Regions from separate parts of the Homo sapiens genome. Here region 1 is linked to region 2. The links are contacts of gene promoters, found by promoter capture Hi-C in blood cells and fetal thymus (Javierre and others, 2016). All regions are on one chromosome and are shown on one strand. Each heading gives the region's core, a stretch centred on a gene start or on the middle of the fragment in contact. The rest is flanking DNA. Distances are from core to core; before and after follow the strand shown. Region 1 overlaps CELF5 (CUGBP Elav-like family member 5). Region 2 holds the start of ATCAY (ATCAY kinesin light chain interacting caytaxin).

The links. Contacts are between HindIII fragments. The CHiCAGO score rates a contact against its expected background, and 5 or more counts as called.
Region 1: a contact is called between a fragment that was not itself captured here and the fragment with the promoter of ATCAY in region 2, in 1 of 17 cell types (M0 macrophages). The highest score is 5.0, in M0 macrophages.

Annotation. Positions count from the first base shown.
Region 1 is chr19:3,231,750-3,234,504 of GRCh38, reverse strand. The region is part of intron 1 of CELF5 (CUGBP Elav-like family member 5); the gene reads right to left. Among named protein-coding and RNA genes, the nearest start is that of CELF5, 8.5 kb to the right of the region's middle. The HindIII fragment of the contact is 4,443 bases long and covers 1-2,755 here.
Region 2 is chr19:3,879,344-3,882,043 of GRCh38, reverse strand. ATCAY (ATCAY kinesin light chain interacting caytaxin) reads right to left here and starts at 1,359. Exons shown (of 13, transcript NM_033064.5): 1 at 1,036-1,359. RefSeq lists an enhancer at 1,154-1,684. The HindIII fragment of the contact is 12,603 bases long and covers 1-2,700 here.

The DNA of each region.
Region 1 (2,755 bases), core at 253-2,752, 650 kb after region 2:
ACTCGACACCACTCGCAGCCAGAAGCACCCCCAAATCATGACAACCACAAATGTCTCCAGACATTGCCAAGTGTCCTAGAATAACTCCCATTGAGAACCACATCATGGCTGGGCGCGGTGGCTCACACCTACGATCTCAATGCTTTGGGAGGCCAAGGCGGGAAGATTGCTTGAGCCCAGGAGTTTGAGACCAGCCTTAGCAACATAGTGAGATGCCAATCTCTTGAAAGAGGGAGGGAGAGAGAGAGAGAGAGAGAACGAACCACATCACTAGATCCCTTCCTCTTCCTCGCCTCCCTTGCCAAGAGCTGGTGAATTGACCTCCCCTCCTCTACCTGGGCCTCCATTTCCCTATGTGTACAAAGTTCTTCTGGTGGCTCCTAGCTCTGCTAGAGGCATGCCCTCTGGTCCTTCCCCCTAGTGGAGGGTCAGGGACAAGAATGCAAATCCTCTTGGATATAAAGACCCCACCCTCAAAGGCTGCTGGGAGAATGGGAGGGCACTGAGGGGCCTGCTCCACTCTGTCTTCCAGCTACCTCCAGGCGCCGCCGTCTTCAGGAGCTCCTCAGAAGAGCCAGGCATAAGCCTAGTGGCAGAACTTCCTGACACATTCTAGGGCCTTCTGTGCCTTAGTTTCCCCATCTAAAAAATGGAGGACCCAGAATCCACATTGTCCATATTCCCCTGAGAGACCCTGTCCCTCCCCTGCCACAGGTCTCCATGGCTCCACCTCTCTTGGGGTAAAAACCAAAGTCCTTCCAAGACACACAGAACCCGCTCAACAACCTGCGCGACTCCCTCTCTGCCCTCTTCTCCTCCCTCTCTCCCCCTCCTCACTCTGCTCCAGCCACAAGGGCCTCCTTGCTGTTCCTCCAACACACCAGATGTGGTGGTCCTGCCTCAGGGCCTCTGCACTCTTCCTGGAACGCCTTTCCCTTGGTTGTAGCATAACAGCCTTCCCATCTGTCATTCAGGTCTCGTCTCAAACGTCACCTCCTAGAAAGGCCATCTCTGGCCCCCAAGGAAAGCTGTCATCTCCCAACACACATCTTTAGTTTGTTTGTTCACAGCAGCTCACCTCACACCTATCTCAACTTTATTTGTTTCCTAGTTTATCGTCAGTCTCTCCTACCCCCTGAATTGCTTTATGTCCTCAAGCCTCGCTCAATGGCTGGCACACAATACAGACTTAATAAAGTTGTTGCCTTTTGAATTTTGAGACAGGGTTTAGATCTGTTTTCCAGATTGGAGTGCAGTGGCATAATCATGGCTCACTGTAGCCTCCACCTCCCCAGGCTCAAGCCATCCTCGCACCTCAGCCTCCCAAGCAGCTAGGGCTCTAGGCACATGCCACCACGTGCAGCTTTTTTAAAAACTTATTTATTTATTTATTTATTTATTTATTTTTAATTTTAATTTTTATTTTTTTTGAGACGGAGTTTCACTCTTGTTGCCCAGGCTGGAGTGCAATGGCATGATCTCAGCTCACCACAACCTCTGCCTCCCGGGTTCAAGCGATTCTCTTGCCTCAGCCTCCCGAGTAGCTGGGATTACAGACATGCACCACCACACCCGGCTAATTTTGTATTTTTAGCAGAGATGGGGTTTCTCCATGTTGGTCAGGCTGGTCTCGAACTCCCGACCTCTGGTGATCCACCCACCTCGGCCTCCCAAAGTGCTGGGATTATAGGCGTGAGCCACCACGCCCAGCCTAAATTTATTTTTTGTAGAGAAGGGGTCTTGCTATGTTGCCCAGGCTGGTCTGGAACTCCTGGGCTCAAGCAATCCTCCCACCTCAGCCTCCCAAAGTGCTGGGATTACAGGCGTGATGCACTGCAGCCAGCCTGTTGACTATTTTGACTGCCTGACCATTTATGGAGAACACCTACAATATGCAAGTCATTATTCAGGTTAATTACATGAATCACACCACATTTTTTTTTTTCTTTACAGACTCACTCTGTAAAGGGCCTCACTCTATCACGCAGGCTGGGATGCAGTGGTGCGATCATAGTTCACTGTAATCTCTAACTCCTGTGATCAAGCAATCCTCCCTCCTCAGCCTCCTGAGTGGCTGGGACTACAGTTGCACACCACCACACCTGGATATGGTTTTTATTTTTTGTAGAGCTGTGTTGCTCAGGCTGGTCTTGAACTCCTGGGCTCAAGGGATCCTCCCACCTCAACCTCCCAAAGCAATGGGATTACAGGTGTGAGCTACCACGCCTGGCCACATCATATAAATTAGTTCCAATTTTGACAACTGCTCTGTGAACTAGCTACCTGTATTACTTCTCTTTTACAAAGTAGCTAAGGTTCAGAAAAGATGAGGTGACTTTTTCAGGATTACACAGAAATTTAAAAATGGAGCCAGGATTGGAACCAAGCCTGTCTGAGAGCAAAGGTTCTGAACATTCGTATTCACCAGGTGAGGAGGAAGGTAGTAAAGGTTGAGGAAGCATCCTTCCATCCTTCAGTCTATCCCATCTTCTATCCATCATCCATCCATCCATTCATCCATGCACCCACCCATCTATCTAGTATTCCATCCACCAATTACCCATCCATCTTTTCATCCATCCATCCAACCATTAATTTCTCCATCTACCCATCATCCATCCATCTATTCATTCACTCATTCACTCATTCATTCATGCATCCATCCATCCATCCATCCACTCATCTATCCACCCACCTACCCATCCATCCATCCATGCACTCATTGACCCACCAACCCACCCACCCACCCATCCAT
Region 2 (2,700 bases), core at 110-2,609:
AGATGAGGAAGTGGGGGGAGGGGACGGCTAAAACTAGACCCTCCCCCGTACAGGGTGAGCGTTTCTCACTCGATTCTCTGTCCTCAATGTCGTCATTCATGCTTGGAGGAGGGACAGTAACACGCAGCATGGAAAAAAAAAAAATCCCTCCTGGATGCTATGGGGTCGGGGGGGGGGCGGTGGCAGCAGCCAGCCAGGCCCTTCCCGCGAGGGTAAGTTCTCCTCGGCAGTAGAAACGCATTTGCTCTCCGGAGGAAGGGGTCTTCGCCTCTCCCTTCCTTATACTGAGCTGGGTGTGACCTCAGCCCCCAGGAACACTCCCACCAGCCCCGCCCCCGACCCCCACCCCCTGCCAGCTGCAGCCACAGGCGTTGACTCCACAGTCTTCTAAGGATGGGGTGGGGTGGGTCCTCAGTGGGCCCCGGACACTCCTGCACTCAGATCCTGGCTTCGCATTTGGGGACGGCCAAAAGAAGACAGTGACATCAAGGAACGGGAGTGAAGCGCTCATTTGAGCCCTGATGTCTGATTATTAACAAATCACATACGAGTTCCAATAAGGAGGAGGCATCTGTGTCTTAAACCATAAACCACCCCCTTCCTCCCCACCCCACAGGACAGCCTTTATCGACACACTTAGATTTTTTTTTTTTTTTTTTCCCGAAATCGTCGGCTGGTGGCCTTCCTAGCGTTATAAATAGGAAATACATAGGGCTAGGATGGGTCTATTTCAGCGTCCCAGAGAGAAGCTGAGGTTTTCATCCGCCCGAGCTCTCAGCGTGTCCTGAAAATGGTGCACTTAGAGGGGAACGGTGCGCGCGGAAGGTAAACTGTGTTGCTGGGCGCAGCTCAGGGAACGGTTTTCCCTGGTACCGGGAACAGGGATGTGAGGGCCTTCACGGAGTCACAAGACCGTGGCTCTCTGCTCCCACCCGCCCCATCTGCTGGAAAGGGATTTAGAGGCGGCAAAGGCTGCCGGATAAACCTTCCAGGGAGACGGTTTATCCTGGGAGAAGGGGAGATGCGCGCACTCACCTCTGCAGCTGAGACAGCCTCTCCTCCTTACTGGCAAACAAAGGCGAGCCCTGCCCGGGTGCAGCTGGGCATCGCTCACGCTCCCCGGGCCTTCAGAGCCTAGGAGGAAGAGGATGCTCGCAGGGGCGGATTCTGCATCCGAGGAAGGTCACCCAGGGCGACGTGGCCAGCGCCCGCCAGCTCTTTTGTGCAGGGGTGGGTGGGGTGCAGGGTTAGCGGTGGGCTCCCCAGCGCGGGGCTGCGGCTGCGCCCCCTCTCATCGCCGCCCGCCTGCGCGCCCTGCCTCCGAGGTAGCTGCTTCTTCCCAGCTCAGGGCTGGCAGAGGCTCGGCTTCCCGAAGACGGTTAATTTATGCTGCTTTTGTGTGCAGGGAGGAGGGGGTGGGGGGTGGCGGCCTGACGGAAAAGCACAGCCCCCTGCCAGAATCCGATCCTCCCCATTGGCTGACAGACAAGCATCTCCGAAAGCCACGCCAGGGGCAGAGGCAGAAATAATTTTCTGATGGCGCATCAGAGATTTAAAAACAAAACAACGGACAAATAAATAAATAAATGGCAAGATGGCCTCATTCCTTAGAGAATGGGGGGTGGGGGAGTTGGGAAAGGTCTTCTTGGCACTTCTCCTTGCAAAGGGAGCAGGGGTGAGGGGTGGCATCCCCCAAAAAGTCTGTGCAGGCAAAGAAATGACTGTCCCCAGGTCGGATGCCATGGCTCACGCCTGTAATCCCAGCACTTTCGGAGGCCGAGGAGGGAGGATCACCTGAAGTCAGGAGTTCGATACCAGCCTGGCCAACATGGTGAAACCCCGTTTCTACTGAAAATACAAAAATTAGCCAGGCGTGGTGGCGTGCGCCTGTAATCCCAGCTACTCGGGAGGCTGAGGCAGGAGAATCGCTTGAACCTGGGAGGCGGAGGTTGCAGTGAGCCGAGATGGCGCCACTGCACTGCAGCCTGGGCGGCAGAGGGAGACTCTGTCTCAAAGAAAAAAAAAAAAAAAGAAAGAAATGACTGTCCCCAGGTCACCGTGTTGTGGGTCCATTAGATGGTCACTTACCATTGATTCAGCCTCGTGCCCTAAACAGGGCTGGGTGCAGGGGAGGCGGAAGTTTCTCAGGCACACTCACTTTGCAGGGCTGCTGTGGGAACGGCGCCCCCTGCAGTTGTGCGCTGGCGTGGCCTCGCCCTGGAGGAATTCAAGGAGACTGTGGAAGATGGTAGGGTGGAGAGTGCAGGCCGTGCAGTCGGACTGGAAGTGGGTTTGAACTCTAGCCCAGCCACTCCCCAGCTGGCAGACCAGTGGGCATGAGTGATCTCACCTGCGGGCCTCAGTTTTTCTCATCTGTGAAATGGAGCCGCTATGGCTTTTCCACATTATGAGATAATGCATAGACAGCACTAAACACAGTGCTGGGGCACAAGAAAAGCTCCCTATGTGTTTCTTTCTCTTTCTTTCTTTCTTTCTTTCTTTCTTTCTTTCTTTCTTTCTTTCTTTCTTTCTTTCTTTTTTTTTTTTTTTTAGGTGGAGTCTCGCTCTGTTGCCAGGCTGGAGTACAGTGGTGCGATCTTGGCTCACTGCAACCTCCGACTCCCAGGTTCAAGTGGTTCTCCTCCCTCAGCCTCCCAAGTAGCTGGGATTACAGGCACACACCACCACACCTGGCTAATT